Regions from separate parts of the Homo sapiens genome. Here all the other regions are linked to region 1. Evidence: promoter capture Hi-C in 16 types of primary human blood cells and fetal thymus (Javierre and others, 2016). All regions are on one chromosome and are shown on one strand. The core of a region is centred on a gene start or on the middle of the fragment in contact, and the rest is flanking DNA. Distances in the headings are between cores, read along the strand shown.

What was found. Contacts are between HindIII fragments. The CHiCAGO score rates a contact against its expected background, and 5 or more counts as called.
Region 2: the fragment with the promoter of GINS4 here is called in contact with the fragment with the promoter of VDAC3 in region 1 in 1 of 17 cell types (naive B cells); the score reaches 5.6 in naive B cells.
Region 3: a contact is called between a fragment that was not itself captured here and the fragment with the promoter of VDAC3 in region 1, in 1 of 17 cell types (naive B cells). The highest score is 7.4, in naive B cells.
Region 4: the fragment with the promoter of GPAT4 here is called in contact with the fragment with the promoter of VDAC3 in region 1 in 2 of 17 cell types (naive B cells and fetal thymus); the score reaches 8.9 in naive B cells.
Region 5: a contact is called between a fragment that was not itself captured here and the fragment with the promoter of VDAC3 in region 1, in 1 of 17 cell types (activated CD4 T cells). The highest score is 5.6, in activated CD4 T cells.
Region 6: a contact is called between a fragment that was not itself captured here and the fragment with the promoter of VDAC3 in region 1, in 7 of 17 cell types (non-activated CD4 T cells, naive CD8 T cells, total CD4 T cells and 4 more). The highest score is 15.8, in non-activated CD4 T cells.
Region 7: a contact is called between a fragment that was not itself captured here and the fragment with the promoter of VDAC3 in region 1, in 6 of 17 cell types (activated CD4 T cells, naive B cells, non-activated CD4 T cells and 3 more). The highest score is 8.4, in activated CD4 T cells.

What each region holds. Positions count from the first base shown.
Region 1 is chr8:42,390,583-42,393,990 of GRCh38, forward strand. VDAC3 (voltage dependent anion channel 3) reads left to right here and starts at 1,298. Exons shown (of 10, transcript NM_005662.7): 1 at 1,298-1,346; 2 at 3,263-3,302. It also overlaps a transcript of DKK4 not described here. RefSeq lists enhancers at 802-1,302, 1,303-1,803 and a silencer at 1,045-1,574. The HindIII fragment of the contact is 9,991 bases long and covers 1-2,199 here.
Region 2 is chr8:41,527,736-41,531,143 of GRCh38, forward strand. GINS4 (GINS complex subunit 4) reads left to right here and starts at 1,526. Exons shown (of 8, transcript NM_032336.3): 1 at 1,526-1,661; 2 at 2,449-2,563. The coding sequence starts at 2,468. RefSeq lists a silencer at 1,072-1,501. The HindIII fragment of the contact is 13,395 bases long and covers 1-3,408 here.
Region 3 is chr8:41,547,369-41,550,776 of GRCh38, forward strand. The region is part of intron 1 of GPAT4-AS1 (GPAT4 and GINS4 antisense RNA 1); the gene reads right to left. Among named protein-coding and RNA genes, the nearest start is that of GINS4, 20 kb to the left of the region's middle. The HindIII fragment of the contact is 563 bases long and covers 1,293-1,855 here.
Region 4 is chr8:41,576,650-41,580,057 of GRCh38, forward strand. GPAT4 (glycerol-3-phosphate acyltransferase 4) reads left to right here and starts at 1,551. Exons shown (of 13, transcript NM_178819.4): 1 at 1,551-1,629. It overlaps GPAT4-AS1 (GPAT4 and GINS4 antisense RNA 1), which reads right to left and starts at 1,719. Exons shown (of 3, transcript NR_125824.1): 1 at 1,657-1,719. RefSeq lists silencers at 1,278-1,897, 1,918-2,057. The HindIII fragment of the contact is 4,489 bases long and covers 830-3,408 here.
Region 5 is chr8:41,689,144-41,692,551 of GRCh38, forward strand. ANK1 (ankyrin 1) reads right to left here. Exons shown (of 43, transcript NM_000037.4): 32 at 1,331-1,456; 33 at 1,084-1,203. Among named protein-coding and RNA genes, the nearest start is that of MIR486-1, 30 kb to the left of the region's middle. The HindIII fragment of the contact is 2,370 bases long and covers 974-3,343 here.
Region 6 is chr8:41,706,461-41,709,172 of GRCh38, forward strand. It overlaps ANK1 (ankyrin 1), which reads right to left. Exons shown (of 43, transcript NM_000037.4): 17 at 2,318-2,515. Among named protein-coding and RNA genes, the nearest start is that of MIR486-1, 47 kb to the left of the region's middle. The HindIII fragment of the contact is 4,197 bases long and covers 1-2,712 here.
Region 7 is chr8:41,828,077-41,831,484 of GRCh38, forward strand. It overlaps a transcript of ANK1 not described here. Among named protein-coding and RNA genes, the nearest start is that of ANK1, 32 kb to the left of the region's middle. RefSeq lists enhancers at 1-463, 15-309, 150-809. The HindIII fragment of the contact is 1,406 bases long and covers 1,123-2,528 here.

The DNA of each region.
Region 1 (3,408 bases), core at 48-2,547:
TCGATCTCCTGACCTCATGATCCGCCCGCCTCTGCCTCCCAAAGTGCTGGGATTACAGGCTGCTTCCTTTAACCTAGAGCAGTTCACTAGCCTTTTTCCTAATCTTTCATGAAACTGACATTTTTGAAGACTGGGCAGTTGTCTTGCAGGTCTCTCAGTTTGGATTTGCCTGATTGTTTCGTCCTGAAGAGAGGCAAATTACACACTTTTACAAGAATATTATCTCTGTGTCCCTCTCTGTGCCTCACACCAGGGGCATATGTCAGTCCCTACCATCCCCCGTTTGATCAGTCTCTTTGATGTGAAGGTACCCTTTTCTCTTTAGTGAGTAATCTATGGGGGTGATACTTTGAAACCATATGAACATCCTCAACGGTCCACTGATCATTTCAGCCTGAATCAATTATTATCATGGTGGTTCCAAGACGATGATTTTCTATTTCTGTCATCTATTCTACCTTTATTAGTTGGTCTTCTCCTCTACAGAAGAGCTTTTTCTCCTCCACATCCTCTGCCCCTTTGAATTATCATCTCTCACTACTTGTGGGATCTTGAATCAATCACTTACTCCCTGGGGACCTGTGTATTCTCATCCTTAAGACGAGATGACCTAAGAGTGACACTCTTGAAGTCTGGTCAGTCTGAAATGAAATTCCCATAAGAGGCTGGGCGTGGGCTCAGGCCTGTGATCCCAGCACTCTGGTAGGCGCAGGCGGGCGGATCACTTATGCCGTGGAGTTCGAGACCAGCCTGGAAACATAGGGAGATTCCCGTCTTTACCAAAAAAAAAAAAAAAAAAAAATTAAATTAGCCGGGCGTGGTGGCGCGCTTCTGTGGACCCTCCTACTCAGGAGGCTTAGGCAGGAGGACGGCTTGAGCCCAGGAGGTCGAGGCTCCAGTGAGCCAAGATCGCGCCACTACACTCCGGCCTGCGGCATGCCTCAAACCTGGGGTCCGGCACCCTGCGGCCTTTTCGCGGCCGCACCCATGGCAACAGTTAACTAGCAACCTCGCGCATTCTCGCGAGAATGAGTCCCCTCAAGGGCACAGGTGCGGTCCCCAGCCTCTTGGGCCCCCAGTCAACCTCACTGTCCACACCGAGCCCTCCTGCGCACGCGCGCTGCGGAGCCGGACAGTTGGTGGTGCTGGCTTGGCCCGGCTGTTCGTCTCCGCGCCTTGCTCCGAAGCGCGCGACCGTGGCGCGACACGCCGGCGCACAGGCGCTCTCGGGGAGGGGCGGCGCGCAGGCGCGGCTGGGGGTGCGAGGCTGCGCAGGCGCGGACGGCGTTGGTTTGAAGACCTTCAGCGTTGCCCTGGCGGAGCAGAGACAGGCCCTCGGGGTGGAGGTGAGGAGAGCTGAGGCCGCGCGGGCTCCAGTCCCGGAGAGCGGTGGGCCGCGGCCGAGCAGAGCGCCAGGCGGGAGGCGGGCCTAACGGAGGCTCTGTGGGCAGGGAGCAGGCTACCGGGGCGCGGGGGGCCGGGGCCGCTCGCTCCCGCCGGGACCCGCCCGGGCCACCTCAGGCGATGGAGCCGCAGCACGGCGGGGCAAGTGGCCTCCGGGCGCGGGCAGCGACCTATCCCGCCGGCGTGTGGACCGCACTTTCCTCCCAGGGGTCAGCTAGAAAGGAGATCGGTTCTAGGGAAGTTGGATCCTCGAACCCCACACCCATCTCCCGCCCGCCCCTGCCCCCTCCTTACGGCCGAGGGAGGGTGCCCTGCGTGCAATTCAAAACGGAGAAGCGAGGAACGAAAAGGGCTCTGTACTGGCTGTCAAGTTAGTGGCTTTGTAAAGCAGTAGCAACCGGCTTAACGCCTTTCCCCGTCTGCGTCTCCTGCAGCCTCTGTGCAGTGTGCACATCTATGGGCAGGTGCATTCTGTAGAGCTGGTGGAGACGTGTGGTTGTAGCTTTACTCTCGAGGAACATGAAGTTTCTGTTGTTCTCGATTTTTGCTTGATCATACTAGCAGTGCATTTCCCATCAGAGTCATAGGCCTGAAAAAGTCAGCTTGAACTAGGCAGAATTGAGGTCAGTTAGTATACTAAACCAGCTACGTGACTTTTGCATAGTATCTCGTACTGGTTTTGAAAAATAACAAAACAAAATGCTGAAATATTGTAAATAGTCCCTAGACGTATATATAGTGCTTCTAAACATTTAAGTGTATCTTTTCTCGGCAGTATGAAAAACCAGACTGTAAAGCTTTAACATTTCTATTTCAATATATACTGCCTGCATTTCTATACTTACTTCCCAAATTACAGACTTCTGGCAAAATTTCAACAAATATCAACATCAGTTGTAATCATAAAGAGTAATATCAAATTGCAATTGGGATAATATAAAAAGCCTAGAATTGATCACTTTAGTACAAGGGATTGAATTGTAAAATAATCGTTCTGTAAGTGAATTATGAAACCTGGTAGCTTAGAGCAAAGTTTTACTATGGAATGAGTCAGTACATTTATACTACCGTTTCCTCTTTAATTTTTTTTTCTTTTTAGTTTTTTATACTAGTCTCTTTATATCATAGTGTCTGTCATATTTGACAGGTTTATGTTAAGGAACAAAACTTAAATGCATTCCCATTTAAGTGCATCATATGTATATGTTTGGTATGATGGGGTAGGCAGAAGCTTAGCAGAAGTCTGGATTAAGAGCTGGGCTATATATAAATAAATATGAGCTTAAATGTGTAGATCATTCAGGCGTAGCAATTGCAAGGGCTAGCTGGTACTCTGGATTTTTCTGACATATGGGCTAATGGCACTGCTAGAGGTGGCTCTGTAATTGGTTAGACATAGCTTTTGAGTCTGCGAGAGGAATACAGAAGAACCTGCTGCAGAAAGATTTCCCATGATACAAAGAGGGCAAAGGAATGAGATAATCAGCAGTGTTGATAGCTCTGAGAATTTGATATGAGGGTCATATTACCAGTAGCAAAGCTGGGCAGATTTTTAGTAGGCAAGATGAAAAATCAAGGCACCTGAGGTTTTTGAAGGCTTTAACTTCAGAGTTTACACTAACTTTTGGTAAGCAGGTTGCTGCAGGTAGAATCTGTCATATTTCTGGTTAATGGGTAAAATTATAGCACTTTAAGAAGAGCTTTGAGAGAAGATATATTCTAGATGAATACACTTCAATTCGTATGGTAAATTCTTATTTTAAGAACTGAATTTCAGAGGAGAAAAATGTTAACCCTGAGGATTTTGATTGCATCTTTTAACAGTTTCTTTAAAAATTTCCATTGTTGTCTTATACAGGTCTTTGGTTTCATAAGAGCCTGAGAGAGATTTTTCTAAGGTAAATTTTGCATATATTTTTAAAAGAAGTCCAGTTTAACATAGCATCTTTTTCATCCTGTAAGAACTTACTTTTCTTTGAAATGCAATCAGAAAGATGACCTCTG
Region 2 (3,408 bases), core at 276-2,775, 860 kb before region 1:
ATCAATATGACATCATAGGGCAGCTTTGCAAAGAGCCCTCAGATTGATGGAGAAGAGATACTTTTAGGGAAGCCAGAAGCAACGCTTTGCACAGAAAACAAAGGACAGCAAAGAGAAAAGAATCAGCAACTCAGAGAAGAAAAACTGGATCACACAAAGATGGAAAAAATATATACATATACAGACATGGGTTTTTGTGCTTTTCCCCTCCAGAAGGTGAGTTGAAAGCATTGCCCCAAAGCAGTGATTCTCTTTTCTTTTTTCTTTTTTTTTCTTTTTTTTGAGATGGAGTCTGGCTCTGTCTCCCAGGCTGGAGTGCAGTGACGCCATCTTGGCTCACTGCAGGCTCCGCCTCCCGGGTTCACGCCATTCTCCCGCCTCAGCCTCCCGAGTAGCTGGGACTACAGGCGCCCGCCACCACGCCCGGCTAATTTTTTTGTATTTTTAGTAGAGACGGGGTTTCACCATGTTAGCCAGGATGGTCTCGATCTCCTGACCTCGTGATCCGCCCACCTCGGCCTCCCAAAGTGCTGGGATTACAGGCGTGAGCCACCGCGCCCGGCCCCAAAGCAGTGATTCTCAAACCTCAGCTGTGTCAGGGTCACCGGGAGGGCCTGGGTCTGGTGAAATACCCCCAGTTTCTGATTCGGTGGGCCAGGGTGGGGCCTGAGAACCTGCATTTTCACGGATTCCCAGGCGATGCTTCTGCTGGTCGTCCGATCCCAGGCTTCAAGAACCAGTACCCACTTTGTGAGGCCGAGGTGGGAGGATTGCTTGGATCCTTGAGTTCGAGACCAGCCTGGCCATCATAGGGAGAACCTCCCCACCCCCAACCCCGCCACAGTTCTTTTTTTTTTTTTTTTTAATTAAAAAATAACTGGGCGTGGTGGCGCTGGCCTGTGGTCCCAGCTACTCCGGAGGCTGAGGTGGGAGGATCGCTGGAGCCCGGGAGGCGGAGGTTGCAGTGAGCTGTGGTGGTGCCACTGCACTCCAGCCTGGGCACCAGAACGAGACCCTGTCTCAAGAAAGATGAAAAGGAATATACTGGAGATTCTGAAGGCAATGACCACACTGACCACAGGTGAAACCCCGCAAAGACGGAGGAACCCAAAGAGCCACGAGAGCTGTGGGTGGAGACGGCCCAGGAGGCTGCAGCGGCCTGCTTTCAACAGCATACTTCTGGGTGGGACCCCCCGGGGCGGACACCGCCGCTCCCCTTGGCCGCGGTGGCGGGCGCCCCCTCCCGACGCTCTTGGGTAGTGCAACCCGGACCGCACAGCGGAGCGGCCGGCCCCCAGGTGGGCGGGGCCAACCCGGACCAGCCTCCCGCCGCCTCAAGTCCTTGGGTTGCTGGGACTGCAGGCCGCCGCGAAGACAGTCCCCGCCCGCCGGGTGGGCGGGCCCAAGGAGACCGCCCCGCTCTTCCCCCCGGGCCTTGATTGGTCAGCGTCGCCCTTGCGCGATGACGTCGTGCCTGGGCGGAAACTTTGCGAGAGTAGCGCGGGAGCTGAGAAGTTGCAGGGTTGAGTTGGTCCCGGCAAGTCCTTGAGCAGTTTGTTCCTCTGTCTTCCCGCTTCCTGGTGCCCCGACTGCGTCCCCACGAACGCCCCGTCCTTACCGCCGGCTGCTGTGGAGTGCCTCGCTGTCTCCCAGGTCCCCGAGTGAGCGTCGAATGGGACCTCTGTGGCTAGGGCAGGCCTGTGTGGGTGGCACTGAGAGGGAGGAGGGGAGGGGGATGTTCGCAGTTTCCTTGCGACCCCAGGGACTTTCTTTGTCCCCGCCATCCACCTCCTTAGGCCTTTGGGATCGCCGACTGGTCTAATGTCGCCGGCCCTTGTGGCTCTGGGAAATTAGCATTGATTAATCTTCCTAACAATTTTTGTTTTTATAGAGACAGGATCTCCCTATGTTGCCCAGGCTGGTCTCGAACTCCTGGGCTCAAGGTATCTTCCTGCCTCGGCTTCCCAAAGTGCTGGGATTACAGGCGTGAGCCCGGCCAGCTCCTAATAATGTTAAGTGCTTGCTAGGAGTCAAGCGCTGTGCTGAGCGCAGGGGCTTCCCACGTCATTGCGTCCCCAGTGCTTAGTGCCAGGCACTGAGCAGAGGCGCGATTCGTATTTGAACTAAAACGAACCCCGTCCCTGAGGAACAAGACCTCTACTGGGAAGTCAAAGAAATGAATAGTGATTGTATGGTGTGATGGGTGCTCAGCTCTTGGTGGACAGAAGTAAGGGGGAGGCTTGTTTGAGAAACGGATACCTGACCTAAGCCTTGGAGGAAGAGGCAGACACTGGAAAACTAGAGTCCCTGCGTTCTCTCACCACTTGCTAAAGGGCCTCTACAACCCCAGGAAACCTCAATAAACCTTTCCTTTCTCCAGATAGATGTCTGTTCTTGCAGATAATTAGAAAACGCATTGCAGAGTATTGGTTCTTTCCCTCTCATTAGGTTCCTGGTTTCAGAGAAGATGACCGAAGAAGTGGATTTCCTGGGACAGGACTCTGATGGGGGTAGTGAGGAAGTGGTCCTAACTCCTGCAGAGCTCATTGAAAGATTGGAGCAGGTAAGCATCCCAGATCGAATCCCTTTGCTCCAGTCAGCCTTTTTATTTAGTTCAACTGTGAATATCAGGGATCACAAGATGAGGAAACGGAATTTGGGGCTTACTTTAGAACAGGGACTGGATCTTACCATCTACATGGAAACGGGAAGCAAGAAGGACATCCTCTGTTAGAGACCTCATCATATCAAACACAGCATCCCCAAGTGGGGTCAGTAAGGGACAGCTTTGGGCACATTCAGTGAACAGTTCACAGAGCAAGGATCCACGTGATATTTTCAGGGACTGTAGAGGTCCCTGAACTTCTTTACCTTAGTCCCTTGAACATCTGCTGTTTCCCTGGAGAATGCCTGTTTAGCAAGAAAATGCTGAAATGCCTGTAAGGGAAAACTGGTCATATTTTTCCTTTTTCTCACATGTTTTTTCTTGAGTCGTCTGCTCTCCATATGTCCACTGCTTATCTAAAATCCTTTCTGAAATATTTCTCCTTTAAGTTGTAATAGCTATGACTTACTGCATATTTCCCATGTGCCAGTAACTGTGTTCTTTACACTTATATCTCATGATGCTCTGGTAACAGGAGTTCAGACTATCTGGATTTAAATCTGTCTGTGACACTCCTCTGTTATGTGATCTTGAGCAAGTTAGGGAGTTTGTCTCAAGCCGTTGCTTGCCTATAAAATTGAGACAATAGGGCCGGGCACGGTGGCTCAAGCCTGTAATGCCAGCACTTTGGGAGGCTGAGGTGGGCGGATCACCTGAGGTCCAGGAGTTCGAGACCAGCCTTACCAACATGGTAAAATCCCGTCTCTACTAAAAAACAAAAATTAGCCGGATGTGGTGGCGCA
Region 3 (3,408 bases), core at 324-2,823, 840 kb before region 1:
GTGGCAATCTCGGCTCACTGCAACCTTTGCCTCCCGGGTTCTAGTGATTCTCCTGTCTCAGCCTCCCCAATAGCTGGGACTACAGGCATGTGCCACCACACCTGGCTAATTTTTGTATTTTTAGTGGAGACGGGGGTTCGCCATGTTAGCCAGGCTGGTCTCGAATTCCTGGCCTGAAGTGATCCATCTGCCTTGGCTCCCAAAGTGCTGGGATTACAGGCATGAGCCATGGCATCTGGTGAGCTTTGATACCAGACTCCTTTGCTGAAGGCCACATCACTTCTAAGTAGAGATGTGATCAAACCCCAGTGAGGCCAGGGCACCTGAGTCCATCCTTTTCATCTTACTGTAATCTTTCTTTCCACAAAAGAAAAGAAGATCCAAAAATGTTTTCAGCAACAATAGCTTCACTGGAATAAGTTCTCATATTCGAAAAAGACTCATTTGAGGGAATAACCACTGCCATTCACATTGCTTTAGAGGAGGTGGCATTTTTCTCAACATAGCTTTCTGTTTTAACCAGGTCATATTCTATGTAACACAATGCTGACAAATTCTGCCTAGCTTGTTAAGACAAAACCACTCGAAGTAAAGTCAGCACACAATTAACCTAAGTCTTGCTTCTTGTTCAGTTCTATTAGTTTCTATGGAAATAAGAATAAAAGTAAATGACTATTTTTGCTTCTAAGGAATTTACAATTAATCCTGAGAAGATGTCTTAAGTGTAAACCTAAAAGTATGGGATTTTTTGGCTCAAAAAAAAAATTTTCCTAACGGCCAGGCCTAGGGTTAAGAGGAAGTTATTTTCTTGGGTTCAGAGATTTGCATATGAATGTTTTAAGCCTCTTAAAGTGACTTAAAACAACCTGGGACCCAAAGTTGTTGCCAGCTCAAATGTAAATGTTTTTAAACTTCAAATTGCTGCTTCTGTTATCACTGAACCTATTAATTTTCCTTAAACAGAATTCTGACCATTTCATTGCCTCTTAAAAAGCTTCAGTGGGCCAGGCACAGTGGCTCACAGCTGTAATCTCAGCACTTTGGGAGGCAGAGGCGGAGGATTACCTGAGGTCAGGAGTTCAAGACCAGCCAAGCCAATATGGTAAAACCCCATCTCTACTAAAAATATGAAAATTAGCTAGGCATGGTGTCAGGTGACTGTAATCCCAGCTACTTGGGAGGCTGAGGCAGGAGAATCACTTGAACCCGGGAGGCGGAGGTTTCAGTGAGCCGAGATCTCGCCATTGCACTCCAGCCTGGGCAAAAAGAGTGAAACTCCATCTGAAAAAAAAAGCTTCATTGGTTACTCATTGCCTACAGAAAAGGAAACAGTAAAGGAGATTAATATTTATCTGTGTCTTGGACAATAGGCAAATTGCTTTCCATGAATTATCTTATTTAATCCTCATAAGGACCCTATGAGATAAGCGCCAGCTCACCACGGTACCCCAGCTTCCTGGTCAAATTGTCCTCTTTCCCTAAATAGTTTATGACCTCTTTTTTAATATCTACAGTTTTACTATTTTATTAAAATCCCACCAAATTCTTTGGGGAATTAAGTAAGGTGTACAAGTTTTCATATGAGAAACACTGGAGTGATTTGGGCACACATAGCTTTCTGGTCGGCCTGCAATCTCACTTCCAGAATAGGTCATGAAAATAACAGTGAGAAATGGCCTCTCCCACACCCAGCTTCACGTGTTAAAGCGTGTGCTGTCCACTCCCACTTCTGTTTGCAGACGTGGCTGCCCTCAACCTCCGGACAAGTGATTTGGTCCTCAATCCAGGTGAGACTGTAGCAGGCCTCCTTTGTTTGTGTAGAAGATCATCAACTTTGCCATCTTCTGGCATCTGAAGCTTTCTGATCTCCAGTCAACAACATAACGTGTACCCTTTGGGTCCTCTTTAGTGAGCTCATGGGTAGGCTGCTGCCCACACTCTTGTCAACAGTTTAACAACTAACACGAGAGAGCCGAAGGGCTGTTTCTTCAGTCCATTTCTCTTGGTTCTCCAACTTTTTTTTTGAGACGGAGTCTCACTTTGTCGCCCAGGCTAGGGTGCAGTGGCGTGATCTTGGCTCACGGCAACATTTGCCTCCTGGAGTCCAAGCGATTCTCCTGACTCAGCCTCCAGAGTAGCTGGGACTACAGGCGCATACCACGGCGCCCAGCTAATTTTTGTATTTTTTGTAGATATGGATGGTGTCTCACCATGATGCCCACACTGATCTCGAACTTCTGAGCTCTGGCAATCCACCCACCTCAGCCTCCCAAAGTGCTAGGATTATAGGCATGAGCCACCACTCCCAGCCATCCAACTTTTACTTCTGTATCAAACTGGATCCCATTAGTCAGTATTTCTGGATGAATGTTTTAGTTCTTTGCTTTTAGCAAAGAGACAGCCATGTGAAAAACATTTCCATGTTTTCTGAAAATTAGAACTGAAGGCATTATCTATTACATATCCATTGTTTCTATATAAGAATCCCTGTAATAAATTTTTCTCAGAATTCAGTGCAAGTAAAAGTTTATATTTTCAAACTTTATGGTTCATTTTATCAGACAAATGAGTCCTATCTGTTCCCCTTCCCGGCCTTCCTACCAGGAACTCAGAGCCACTTTGTGTGCCCCTGCCTCCCTCTGAGCTTCCTTGTGTCTTTCCTTAAATAGTTTCCGATCTCCTTATGATACCTACAGTTTCAATCTTCTATTTTGCCTTAATTTTAAAAGCTACCCCAAATTTGGGGAAGAATTACATAAAAGATATATAAGTACATATTAGTAACTTGGATATATATTAGTTCCCACTTTTTAAAACATGTATGGGAATGAGTGATTTATAAGCCATTTGACAGCATATGAATTCCTAAGTAGGAAAATTCATAAGCAAAAGTGGTAATGAAGGCAGGAGGTGTAGTGTCCTCTCACTCCAGCACTTGTTTAAAAAGAGTGGCCAGGTGAGGTAAGTGACCTAGTAACAACAGCAGGTGCCAGGTATAACTCCATTCACTTTAGTCAACAAACAGGTAGGCTGGCTGGGTGCGGTGCCTCACGCCTGTAATCCCAGCACTTTGAGAGGCCGAGGCAGGCAGATCACTTGAGATCAGGAGTTCAAGACCAGCCTGACCAACATGGTGAAACCCCCATCTCTACTAAAAATACAAAAAAAAAATTAGCCGGGCATGGTGGCGGGTGCCTGTAATTCCAGCTACTCGGGAGGCTGAGGCAGGAGAATTGCTTGAACCCAGGAGGTGAAGGTTGCAGGTGAGCCGAGATGATGCCACTGCACTCCAGCCTGGATGACAGAGTGAGACTGCATCTCAAAAAAAAAAAAAAAAAGGTGGGGTTAGACATTGTGGTATGTGCTGCACATTCAGAGAAGAAAGCCCCTGTCTTAAAGCAGCTTACA
Region 4 (3,408 bases), core at 301-2,800, 810 kb before region 1:
CTTGAATTGGGATCCCCAAAAAAGCTGGGCGAGTAACAAGGGCTCAATGAATGGATAAGTGATTGAGTTAATAAATACGTGATCAGTTCCAAATGGGTAACATTTAGTTATATTTGGTGGAGATAAGTAGTCCAGTGTTTTGGAGCTAAGTGGTTATTCTTTTTTTTTTTTTTTTTTTTGAGTTTGGGTCTCGCTCTGTCACACAGGCTGGAGTATAGTGCCACAATCTCAGTTCACTGCAACATCTGCCTCCTGGGTTCATGCAATTCTCCTGTCTCAGCCTCCCGAGTAGCTGGGATTACAGGTGCGTGCCATCACCCCCGGCTAAATTTTGTATTTTTAGTAGAGACGGGGTTTCACCATGTTGGCCAGGCTGGTCTCAAACTCCTGGCCTTAAGTGATCTGTCCGCCTCTGCCTCCCAAAGTGCTGGGATTACAGGCGTGAGCTACCCGCGCCCCGCTCCCCCCACCATTTTTTTTTAATTTTCAAAATTTTTGTAGAAGTGGGGGTCTCGTTACGTTGCCCCGGCTAGTCTCAAACTCCTGGCCTCAAGCGATCCTCCTGCTTTGGCCTCCCAAAACGCTGGGATTACTGGCGTGAACTACCATACTCTGCCCTTTATTCTTACAGAGATTTTGAGGTCTAAGAATGTGGACTTTAAAGATTTCATTATCAGATTATGCATTTAGCACGGAATGACAATCTGACAGCCGTGTACAGCGTAAACCGGCGGAGAGGGCTTGGCACTAAAGGCAAACTGTCTTTTAAGAACAGGAAAAAGAAAGGTAATATATATTTTAAGGAGGTCCCATTTTAGGGGAGATAATAAGCTTGGGTTAGGCGTCCGAAGTCAGAAGATATAGTAAGAAACACACACGCAAACTCCAGCAGCCACCAGCTAGACTTGAGTAGAGAGAGCAGGTCCAAGTGGAGGTGGAAGTTGGAAAGTTGCATCTGCCAGGCAGGGCGAAAGTGGCCTACACCCACTCCTGGAGCACCCTGCTTGACGAGCAAGGTAGACGAGGCTGAGGGATACTGCTGGTGATGACGGTGGTCGTGGTGATGGTGCTGGTAGCTAACAGATCTTGAGCGTACCAGGCCCTGAGCTGAGTCCTCTAACGGGCAGAATGTCGCTGCATACGGACAGCAGCCTCAAGAGGACAAGGTGATTTAGTGACTCTAGCCTCTTCCCGCGGTGCCAGCCTGATTTCACCCTCTCCGGAACACACAAGCGAACCTCCGGGGAGGGAGCCAGTATCGGGTCCTAACGCAGGGAAGCGCTCCGCTTTCTGAGAGGGACGCGCCAGCGGAGGGACAGCCAGGGCCCGGCCTCTCCTGCTCCTGCCCCGCCCCGCCCCCGGCAGTGCCCCCTAGTCCGCCAGAGGGCGACTCCGCGGGTCGCCCAACCCGCGACCGGTCCACGCGGCACCCGCCTCTCCCTAGGCCCCCGCCCTGCCGGCCCGCGCGCGCCCGACGGGAGCGTGCGGGGCGGTGGGCGCAGGGTCACGTTGGGCGGCGCAGACAAAGGCGGGCGCGCGCACGTCCTGACGCAGCTTGGGCCCGCGGCGGCGGCAAGGGCGGGAGGGAGCGGTCGCCGCGGGATTTGGAGCTGCCTAGCCTCGCGGTCGGTGAGTAGGAGGGAGCTGGCCCCTTACCTCAAAGTCTCCGACCTCCGGGGAGCCGAGAGCGGGACGTGGGAGCCGGGCTTGGGCGGCCGCGCGGGGCCTGCGGTCTGGGACGCCCCGGCGACGCTGCGCCGGCGTCAGGAGGCACCATCGCCGCGCCCCGGGGATCCCCGGCGGGTGGAGCGGGTGCCCCCCGTCCGGGATGGAACGGTCCGCGCCCGCCCCGAACCCCGGCCGCCCGCCTCTCCGCTCGCCTGCTCTCCGAGCCCGGCTCCTCGGAGCCCCTCGCCTCCCCCAAGTCCCAGGTGTGCGCAGCCCTCCCGCCCCGGGAGTCCGGGGATGTGGGTGGCGAGGGCTGCTGGGCGTTGGAGCACCAGGAAGCGCCTTCCCCTGTCATTCCCCTTCCTGTGTTCTCTGGCTGCCGTAAGATGCATGTCTTTACCCTCTCCTTCTCCAAATGCATGCTCCCATTTTTCTTTAGGATTTCTTAACTCCTGAAATCCCTTGCCTTTCCTTTTTTATTTCAGCACCCTCTGAGGCATCCTTCTCCCAGTGGGGCTTGTTTATTTCCTCGCTTTCCATGTCACAGAGGGCTGAAGTTTAGCTGTTCAGAAGTTGCAGAAAATAGCTTATAGGAGACATACGGTGTAGCACGATGGAAATAAGTTCCATCCTCTGCCAAGTATTACCATGGATCTTCTCATGGATAACCTTGAGGTCATTTGAGGAATTTTGTTTTTGGTTCATTTTCCTTAATTTTGGCTGAACTTTGAGGAGCTCTCCTTAGTTTCATGTCTTGTAGATTCTATCTCAATCCAAGGGAAATGGTGTGAAGAGCAGTTATACCATACCAAAGTCTCCAGACAAAATCCTGTAATAATGCCAATCAAATATACTTCTCTCTTTGAAAGAGATGTGCTTTTCTTTTCTTTTTTAACTTTGTATTTTGGAGAATTTCAGACACAGGGAAATAGATGGAATAGGGAACCAGCATGTACTTGTTCTGGCCTCCTCAGCCACTTAACTGTGGCTATTCCTGTGCCATACACACCCCACCCATTTCCCCTCCCGTATGTCTCAGGGAGAACTTGATGCAAGATGAGTCTGTCAAAAGTAGCTTCAGTTCCATAATGAAAACCACCATACCAAGTCATAAGGTGCTTTTTGTTTTGGAACACAGCCTACTCATGAGGTCTTCAGCTAAGAAACACAGTAGAGTTGAAGAAAGAGCACAGCAAAAGGTATCTTAACATGATAGAACAGGTTAAAAGAAAAAGTATGGCCGGGCGTGGTGACTCACGCCGGTAATCCCAGCACTTTGGGAGGCCGAGGCGGGCGGATCACCTAAAGTCAGGAGTTCAAGACCAGCCTGGCCAACATGGTGAAACCCTGCATATACTAAAAATACAAAAATTAGCCGGACGTGGTGGCAAGTACTTGTATTCCCAGCTACTCGGGAGGCTGAGGCCGGAGAATCGCTTGAACCCAGGAGGCAGAGGTTGCAGTGAGCCAAGATTGCGCCGCTGCACTCCAGCCTGGGCGACAGAGCGAGACTCGTGTCAAAAAAAAAAAGAAAAGAAAAAAAGTGTTTCAGATCTGGATGAGAACATTCGGAACGTCCTGTTCAATGTTTTCATTTTTTTCTGAGCCCTTGGAGGTCCAGAGAAGTTCAGTGACTTGTCCAGAGCTGCAGGTCTTAAGAGGCTGAAATCTCGCCTCTGCCTCGAGGCTGCGGTTCCACTGACCCATACTACTTGCCTTCAGGAAAGAGAAATGGTGTAG
Region 5 (3,408 bases), core at 909-3,408, 700 kb before region 1:
GTCTCACTCTGTCTCTGAAGCTGGAGTGCAGTGCGATGGCACGATCATGGCTCCACTGCAGCCTCAAACTCCCGGCCTCAAGTGATCCTTCTGCCTCAGCCTCTCGAGTGCCAGGACTACAGGTGCATGCCACCATGCCCAGCTAATTTTTCATTTTTTTTTTTTTGTACAGACAGGATCTCACTATGTTGCCCAGGCTAGTCTTGAACTCCTGGGCTCAAGCAATCCCTTGCCCCAGCCTCCCAAAGCACTGGGGTTACAGGCATGAGCCTCTGCGCCCAGCCTGAAAATCCTCTTTTGAAAAAGAAGTTGGTTCACCCTCATCTCATGCCCAAAAAGAAAAGAGAGATTGAGCCATGGACTTATGAATGTAACCTTGCTTCTTTCCTAGTTTAGCATGGAAGGCTAATGATTAAAACAACAACAGCAGCAAAACAACAGCAACGAAAACCACAGAGACGGTCTGGAGACGTATGATCCCTCCAAAGTCCCCAGCAGAGGTGGTGACTGGGATACTCTTACAGGTATCGACAAATGAACATACGTGGCCAAGACTCCTTTGCTGAGCTCAAAACCCTGGGTGTTTGCAGTGGCTGAGGACACCAGGCTTCCCTTCTGTGAGGGCCTAGCACCCTGGGAAGATAAGCAGGTAGATGAAAAAGCGGCCTGAGAGAAGCCGTGCAGGGGCTGGGAGACCTTAGCAGCTCTCCTTGGTGTGAACCTCAGAGGCCTCGGGCCAGGGACACCGAGGCAGATGCCCTTAGGGCCCCTTGTCACTTTCACACCTAGGGAGCCCAGGGTCCACAGCGTGAATGTGCCCATCACCATCTGATACCAACATTTGTTCTTCCTGTCCCATGACCAGCACTGCACTGCAAATTGCAGAGAGGGCCAGGGCATGGTCTCCCCGCCAGGCCACAACATGAGCATGTGGAGGAGAGCTCAGCACCTTTGCATGCCTCGGGGGACTCTAAGCTTCCACCAGGAAGAAGCCCCTTGGAAGTGCTGGACCTGGGGTCTGTTTGGGGACCTCCTACAGGGAAGCCGTCTCGGGCCAAGGCTCCTCGGCAGGTGCCAGCTCACCTTGGCGCAGGGGGGCATGGTGATGTTCAGGTGGCAGAGAATGTGCTGGGTGTCCTCGTACTTCATCGCCTTGCGCAGAAACGACAGGGACCCTCCCGGCTCTCGACTGCTGTCCCTCACCTAAACTCAATCACACAAAGGAGAATTCAGGGGCCCTTTTCTAGGCCACCCGGCTGTCTGGTTTAGGGAATTCTGCCTCCCCAACTTTCTAGACCCAGAGGAGAACTCAGCCAGAGGGTGCCGGCACCTTTACAGGCATGGCCAGACGGTTCTCCCGAAATGACTGGAAGTGGAAGCTCCGCTGCTGGGCAGCTTTCTTCACAGGCACCAGGTTCCCAGAGAGTTCTGCAAACAGGGACATTCCTTCCAACACCTGCAGGAGAGGAAAAGCAGATACAGCTTGTCAGGGAGAGAAGGGCCCAGATGTCCCTCCTTCCACCTTCGGTCCTTCCCTCTCCAAGACACACCCTGCCTCAGCAAGAGGCATGCGGGTGTGTGCTGAGAAATCCACTGTTTGTTTTGGGAAAGGCTTTATTTCCAAAATTGTGATCAATGAGGCATGCTTCCCGACTTCAACAGATTTTGTAATATGTAGGGATCTTCAAATATCCCTGAGATGTTGATGGGAATTGCTATCAAGTATTCCAAAACTTCACTTGAATATCATAACATAGCTTCTGAAAACAACAACAACAACAACAAACCCTGGTTCTGGGCTGGGCATGGTGGCTCACGCCTGTAATCCCTCCACTTTAGAAGGCCAAAGTGGGAAGATTGCTTAAGTTCAGGAGTTTGAGACCAGCCTGGGCAACATAGGAGATCCTCATCTTTACAAATTTTTTTAAAAAAACTAGCCAGGTGTGGTGGCATGTGCCTGTAGTCCCAGCTACTTGGGATGCTGAGGCAGGAGGATCACTGGAGGCCAGGAGTTTAAGGCTGCAGTGGGCTATGATGTCACAACTGCACTCCAGCCTGGGCAACAGACTGAGATCCTGTTTCTAAAAATAAAACCAAGGTTCTGTTTTTATGTCTGTCCAAAGATGCTTTGTTCATGACAAGAGCTGGAAAGCACTTGCTCTGTTTTAATCTCACTCATTGTTATGGGTGAGCTTTCAACTGAGAAGTTATCACTAACTCATTTGACAGTTGAAAAAATTGAGGCTGAAAGAGAAAAACCGGTTTGCCTCGTTAGTGCCTAAGACAGGATTAGAACCAAGGTTATAGTCCTGCACTTGTTCTCTGGGGCCCTCAGCCTTCCCCAGGAAAACTCAGTGCAGATTCTGAGGATTAGATCACTGCTGGCTTACTACACATCTTAACCCAAGTGGGTCTCTTAGGATCGGTAACTGGTTCAGACCTAGCCCCCATGCCTTCACTCTTCACATTATCTGTCGAGCCCTTTCCTCTGCCTCCTCACCTGGGTGCTACTGAAACCCTAGCACAGCAGGTTATAATGTAGACTCTGGGGCCAGAGATGACCTGGATAAATCCCATCTCCACCACTCACTTAGCTGTGTGACCATTGGCAAGTTACTTAACCTCTCAGCCTCAGTTTCTTAATACACAAATAAGGGATAATAAAGGTACCCATAAATATGAGAATTAAATGAGAATATGCAAGAAAAGCACTTTTAGTTATTTATTTAATAGAGATGGTGTCTCACTACGTTGTCCAGACTGGTCTCAAACTCCTGGGCTCAAAGCGATCCTCCTGCCTCAGCCTTCCAAAGTGTTGGGATTATAGGCGTGAGCCTCTGAGCCTGGCCAGCACTTTTATTTGTTTGTTTTTTGTTTTGTTTCCTGCCCCCACCACCATACTCAGCTGGCTAGCACTTTTTTTTTTTTTTTTAAACAGAGTCTTGCTCTGTCACCCAGGCTGGAGGGCAACAGTGCGATCTCGGCTCACTGCAACCTCTGCCTCCCGGGTTCAAGTGATTCTCCTATCTCAGCCACCCGAGTAGCTGGGATTACAGGCACGTGCCATCATGCCCGGCTAATTTTTGTATTTTTAGTAGAGACAGGGTTTCACCATGTTGGCCAGGCTGGTCTCGAACTCCTGACCTCAGGTGATCTGCCCGCCTTGGCCTTTCAAAGTGTTGAGATGAAAGGCGTGAGCCACTGCGCCCGGCATGGCCAGCACTTTTAATAGTCCCTGGTGCACAAGACCTTCGGCAAATGCCAACTCTTTTCATAGATCACTGGACCAAAAGCCTGCAGCCTCCTCTGAGATGTGCATGGTGGCATCTCTCTCCTTTCCTGAAGCTTCTCTAAGATGCTTCTCAAGAGGGGTCTCAAAGACAGACAGCTGTGGAGCCCCTCGTCTAC
Region 6 (2,712 bases), core at 213-2,712, 680 kb before region 1:
GATCATCAATATTTTTGGCCATGTCTCTATATGACTAACATTTAAATGAATGGGCATGGCTGTGTTTCAATAAAACTTTATTTACACAAACAAGTGGTGGACCAGATTTGGCCCACGGGCCCATAGTTTGCTGACTTCTGATCTAGATGAACTTTATGGCACTTTCCCATCGTTGGTGCTTTATGGACTTCCCAGTAAAGAATGCCCCATTTCCATGGTGAATTTCAGAGCCCTGTAGCCTTGGTTTCCTAATCTAGACAATAGGGGTTATCATGGATCCATCTCAGGGGCAAGGTGAGGAGCGCTGGAGAAAGCACAGGTGAAGCACATTGAGAGGCACACAGTGCTGTTTAAATGGCTGGGCGCGGCGGCTCATGCCTGTCATCCCAGCACTTTGGAAGGCCGAGGCAGGTGGATCACCTGAGGTCAGGAGTTCGAGACCAGCCTGGCCAACATGGTGAGACCTCCATCTTTACTAAAAATACAAAAATAAGCAGGGCGTGGTGGCTCATGCCTGTAATCCCAGCTACTTGGGTGGCTGAGGCAGGAGAATCACTTGAACCTGGGAGGCAGAGGTTGCAGTGAGCCAAGATTGCACTACTGCACTTCAGCCTAGGTGACAGAGCAAGACTCCATCTTAAATAAATAAATAAATAATGTACCATACTGTTATCACTGCACAGCCAGTGCTGGCACGGTCAAGAGGGCAGAGCATCCCGCCAGGATTGAACGGACCATATTCTTGCAGGTGGCATCACAGCTTCGTCAGGAAGGCAGTAAGGTATCAGAGATGTTGTTTGATATGTGGGCACCCACATGAAAATGTCAGAAAAGTCTTCTCTCCCCTGGACTTTGCCTCAATACACTTTGCTAGCGTGGGACCAACAAAACGGATTTCTCTGCAGGCACAGACCGTGTCCCCTCTACAGGACTCCACTTGCCCTCCTCTGCCTTCTGCACACCCCGCAGGCTGCCCAGAGGCTTGTGGGCAGTCATGATGCCCCACCACACACTGCTGCAGCCAAAGCAGGTGGGCCCCTCCTGCAGGCAGGCGGGGGTGGCTCCAATGAGAACAGCCCTCGGTTGAGGAGTGACTGTGTCAGCCTCTCAGGCGGGCGCTCTGCCTCATTCTTGAGCTAACACCAATAATCTGCCTCGTGAGGGCGGCGTGCGGATGACAGAGTGGGTTTCCAGTCACCTTACGGTCTCCTTGCAAAGCTCACATTAAGTGGGGCAGTGAAGGAACCCAGAATGCCATGAGATATAATGAATATAATGGTCCTACCAGAATGGTTCGCTCATTGGGGGTCAATTGTTCAAATTTGTAAAAAATGTGCCAGATTTTGTACAAAATGTGCCAGATTTTGTACAAAATCTATAGGTTTTTAAGAAATCTTAAGTTGCCCTGAAAATGCTTGCCTTTCTGAATGTGTGCTATGTGAATTTATCATCAAAGAAGTGGTTCTTCACATTGCATGGTTCCACGTATATGAAATGTCCAGAACAGGCAAATTCCTAGAGACTGAAAGATTTGCAGTTGTGAGGGACCGGGGGCTCTGGGGGAAATGAGAAGTGACTGCTAACGGGTACGAGGTTTCCTTTCGGAGTGATGAAAGTGTTCTAGAGTTAGATCATAGGCTGCTGAATTCTGTAAAAATACTAAAAAACATTGAATTGTAGAGTTTGAAAGGGTGACTTCTAGGTGAATTATATTTCGATAAAACTGTTATTTAAAAAAGAAGTGATTTTTAGTCTTTTTTTTTGGGTCACACATTCCTTTGAGAAGCTGAGAAACATTATGAATGCTTCACCCAGAAAACTGCTCACGCGCGCTTCCTCCCCAGATGTGTGCGCAATTTTAGAAGGCTTTATCCTCACACACCTATTGTTGCTGGAGTGAGAACTCCTAGTGTATAGGTCAGTGTTTTTAAAAATATCTTTCCCCCACGGAACATAGAATATTTAGTCCCAAATGACAGAATGCACTCCTGAAGGTAGGCACCGGCCTATATTTGGGAAAGTTTATTATGGATTTTAATATTGATCTTTCTGCAGATCCTTAGGTCAATCTGTTTAGAAAGATCGGCAAAGGCTTTGGCATCAGAAAGGCTCAGAATCCTGCCACCTTGGGAATAAGCAACCTTTCTGACTCTGTTTATTCATTTATAAAATGAAGGTGAAATGTACGCAGGGCTGTTCCAAGGATTACACACACACACCCCTAACTCAGAACCTGGGCACACATAGATGCTCAATATGAAGACACCACACGTTGTTATCCAGCACTCCAGGGCAGATCCGAAGACACCATGCCTACCTTGTTCCCCAGGTTGCCATTGGCTTGTTTCGAGAGCAGCAGAGCCACCATCTCTGCGTGGCCCTCCTGGGCGGCCAGGTGAAGGGGCGTCACACCTTGCACCGACTCGGCGTTTGCTGAGCCCCCATACTGCAGCAGACTACGGGCCACCTCCACCTGGTTCTGCTTGGCAGCGATGTGCAAAGGGGTGTAGCCATTCTGAAACAGAAGAAGCCGCCCAGAGCCTGGTTACAGGAATGCTGAGCTGACAATATCAACACACAAGCAGGGGCTGAGTCTGGTTCTTGGCCGGCTGGACACCCAGTGAGCAGGGCTGGCATCACCCAGGAGCAATTTAGGTAAACAAACAAACAAACAAAATCCATTTGATTTGGAGACAGCTCCTCAGGCTTGCA
Region 7 (3,408 bases), core at 576-3,075, 560 kb before region 1:
CGCCCCAGGGCCGCGAGCGCTCAGGGATTTTGATTCCAGACCCTGGGCACCAGGTTGGAATCAAAATGATGGAGTTCCCGGTCGGTCCTCCAGTGCTGAATGTTTAATTTCCTATGAAAGGCTGCGAGCTAGAGGAGGAAGCAGGAACACCCAGCGCCGTTCCCGCCCATCCTCCCGCTCCGCCCCGCTCCGCCCGTGCTGGGCTGTGGCCTCCACACCAAGCAGCCGCCCTGGGCCGCCTTCCTTCGTCTGTGCGTGCAGCGCCGCCTCCTTCAGCTTAGGCCCGACACTCCATGAACTCTCATTTTCCACCTTCTCCGTCTCCAGCTTCCAAGCTGCACAGGGCCAGGCCGAGGTACGTGATGGCGGGCACTGAATTACAGATCCCGTCTGTGGCCGCCAGCCTCTGTGTCCTGCCACCTCCTCCGAGAGGACATCACCGCCACCAGGTGGAGCGAGTCTCCTCCTCGGCGCTCCAACCACGTGCTGTTTATTACTCTGTGGGGATTCCCATACCGAGGCCTCTTCAGTTCCTGGAACAGTAGCACTAAAAGGCTCCTGAGTGCCTCTGTTAATTTGATTGTTCTGGTTCGCACTACAATGACCGGGCTGGAGAGGGGGCGCTCGTAATGAAACAGGAACTGCTCCTCGCGCCCGCTCCAGAGTCCTTTACATCTTTGGGGAGAGGGCATACGGGGAGCTACATTTCATTTTCCTGAAGATTTTCCACGCGAAAGTGCTGGGGAGAGAGTTGGGCCTGGGAGGCTGCGCCTTCTTCCCGCGAATCCCGAAAACTGCGCGGCAAAGGCGGGTTCCGCAGAAGTCGCGCGTGACCCGGGGCGCCGCCCTCCTCGGGGCCCATTCGGATCTGCCGCCCGTCCTCTCCAGAGCGCCCCCTGGCGCCCTCTAGGCCATCTTGATTCCACCGCCGCAGTTGAAAGAATTAATAAATAAATCCTAGTCTCGCGTCTAGACCGGTCCGTGAGGGTCCCCTGCTCACCGGACACCCTGCCGCAATCTCTGCTGTCCCATTCTGGCCTCCCTACGGGGACGGGGGCCACCGTTTGCACATCAGCGGCGTTTGGGACAGCACTGTGCAAGATCTGTGACTCGGCTTTCAGAAGCTTCTGCCACAAGGCTTCAAAGGAAACCTTCAATTTTCACATTTCCTAGGGGGAAAAAAAATCTGAGATTTCTTCTTGTGGCTTGATGAACTTAGCTTTCGTCGCTGGAACAAAACCCGAGGAACAGCGTCTTCGCCACCCTTGCCACCTTACTGATGTTTCTCAGGGGGCACATGCCCATCGCAACCTTATGACCAATCCCATTTTTCAGATGCAGAAAGAGGCTCAGAGAGGTTAAGTGCTACTTGCTCAAGGCCACAGCAGGGAGTGGAGCTGGATTCGCTCCCAGGCAACTGACCCCAGCGTGCAGTCGATGCCTTCTCCTAGTCCCACTCACCGTGTAAGACCTGGTATTTACAAATTAGATTCTCGTTGTGCTTCTCCATTGGAAGGGCACTAGGGGAGCTCATTGTCTAAGACTGCCATCCCTAACTGCCTTTTAAAAAGAAATCTGGGCCGGGCGCAGTGGTTCATGCCTGTAATCCCAGCACTTTGGGAGGCCGAGGCAGGCAGATCACGAGGTCAAGAGATCGAGACCGTCCTGGCTAACACGGTGAAACCCCGTCTCTACTAAAAATACAAAAAATTAGCCGGGCGTGGTGGCGGGCGCCTGTAGTCCCAGCTACTTGGGAGGCTGAGGCAGGAGAATGGCTTGAACCCAGGAGGCTGAACTTGCAGTGAGCCGAGATCGCCCCACTGCACTCCAGCCTGGGCGACAGAGCGAGACTCTGTCTCAAAAAAAAAAAAAAAAAAAAAAATCTGACGTGACAAGGCCTTTAGTTTTTATAAGTGAGGTCTCCTCTCTTTGCCTAGATATTCCTCCGATAACATCAATGAAATTTTGCCCAGCACAGAGCAAGTACTAAATAATGATTTGGTGAATCTAATGTTGAGCCTGCAGTAATCCAACTAGAAACACCCACTCAGCCACTCGGGCATACCTTTTATTTGGGCAAGGGGCACTGCAGTTCTCTGGGCAGGGGTCAGCTAGGAGAGACCAATAGATGCCCCCACCCCAGGCTCCTAGACCCATCTCCAGGACCAAACAGCCAAAGCCCCTCTTCTTTTCTTCAAAATACACACATTTCTAGAAATTCTCTGCAAAATACATAGGCTACTAGATAAGCACCCAGTTTCCCTCTGGGGTCATTTGTTCCCGAATGAGGCTTATTAAAAGAGGAAACTATTTTTAAGCTAAATCATCAATCAAAAGTATTCTTCATTCTGGTATATGGCTGCTTTCCACAGATGATAAAATCCCGTCAACTTGATCCAAAGAAAAAATGACCTACATAACAATGACAGCATGAATAACAATTAATCCTCCATTGAAATGTTCAAAAGCTAGAATTGTGGTAAAGCCAAGATTCCCAGGGAGTGTCAGGAACTGCTCTCTTGATTCTAAGCTTGAAGCAGGTAAAGAAAAGGTTGTCTGGGACTAGGGCTTTCGGGGATAGGACCCAAATCCCAAGGCAAAGGGAGTCAGAAGCGAGTAAGAAAAGCAAACAGCTCCTACCTACCCAGTGCCAAAGAAACGCAGACACCAGTTCTGTGTCGGTTCTGCTTGAAAAGGTCTGAGAAGAATAATTTGGTAGATGAATCATTGAAGAATAATTTTGCAGACAGCTCCATCAAGCCAAATGCCCAGCGTGAGGGCTGTGTGTATAATACTGTCATAACCTTTGAAGATAGATTCTGTTCATCAACACGGCTGTTTACATAATCACTTGGTCACCTCACCAAATGGATTAATCTTTTTGGTCACATTCCTTATCAGTGCATGGAGAGGCTAATTGTTGGTGGCCCAATGTGTCCCATAAACGGATCCCATGAGAATAAGCTTGCAGCAACAGATGATGAAGGGAACTGAGATACAGACGAAAGCACAGCGGCCTGGGAGACAGGAGACGAGGCTCCGCCTGGACCTTGACGACGACCTTCCTTAAAACTATGGACTCGTCATCTGACCTCTCAAGGCCTCCATTTCCCCATCTGTAAAACCGAAAGCCCCTCAGCAATCTGGGGCTATCATCTGAAAAGTGTGGGCAGCTGCGGGCGCTCATACCTCAAGCCCCAAGAGTTTCTTCTTCTAACAGTAACATACTTTGCACATGACCCAGCAATCCCACTCCTGGGTATTTACCTGATAAATGAAAACCCATGTTTGCCGGGCATGGTGGCTCATGCATGTAATCCCAGCACTTTGGGAGGCCAAGGTGGGCGGATCACTTGAAGTCAAAAGTTCAAGACCAGCCTGGAAAACATGGTGAAACCCCATCTCTAC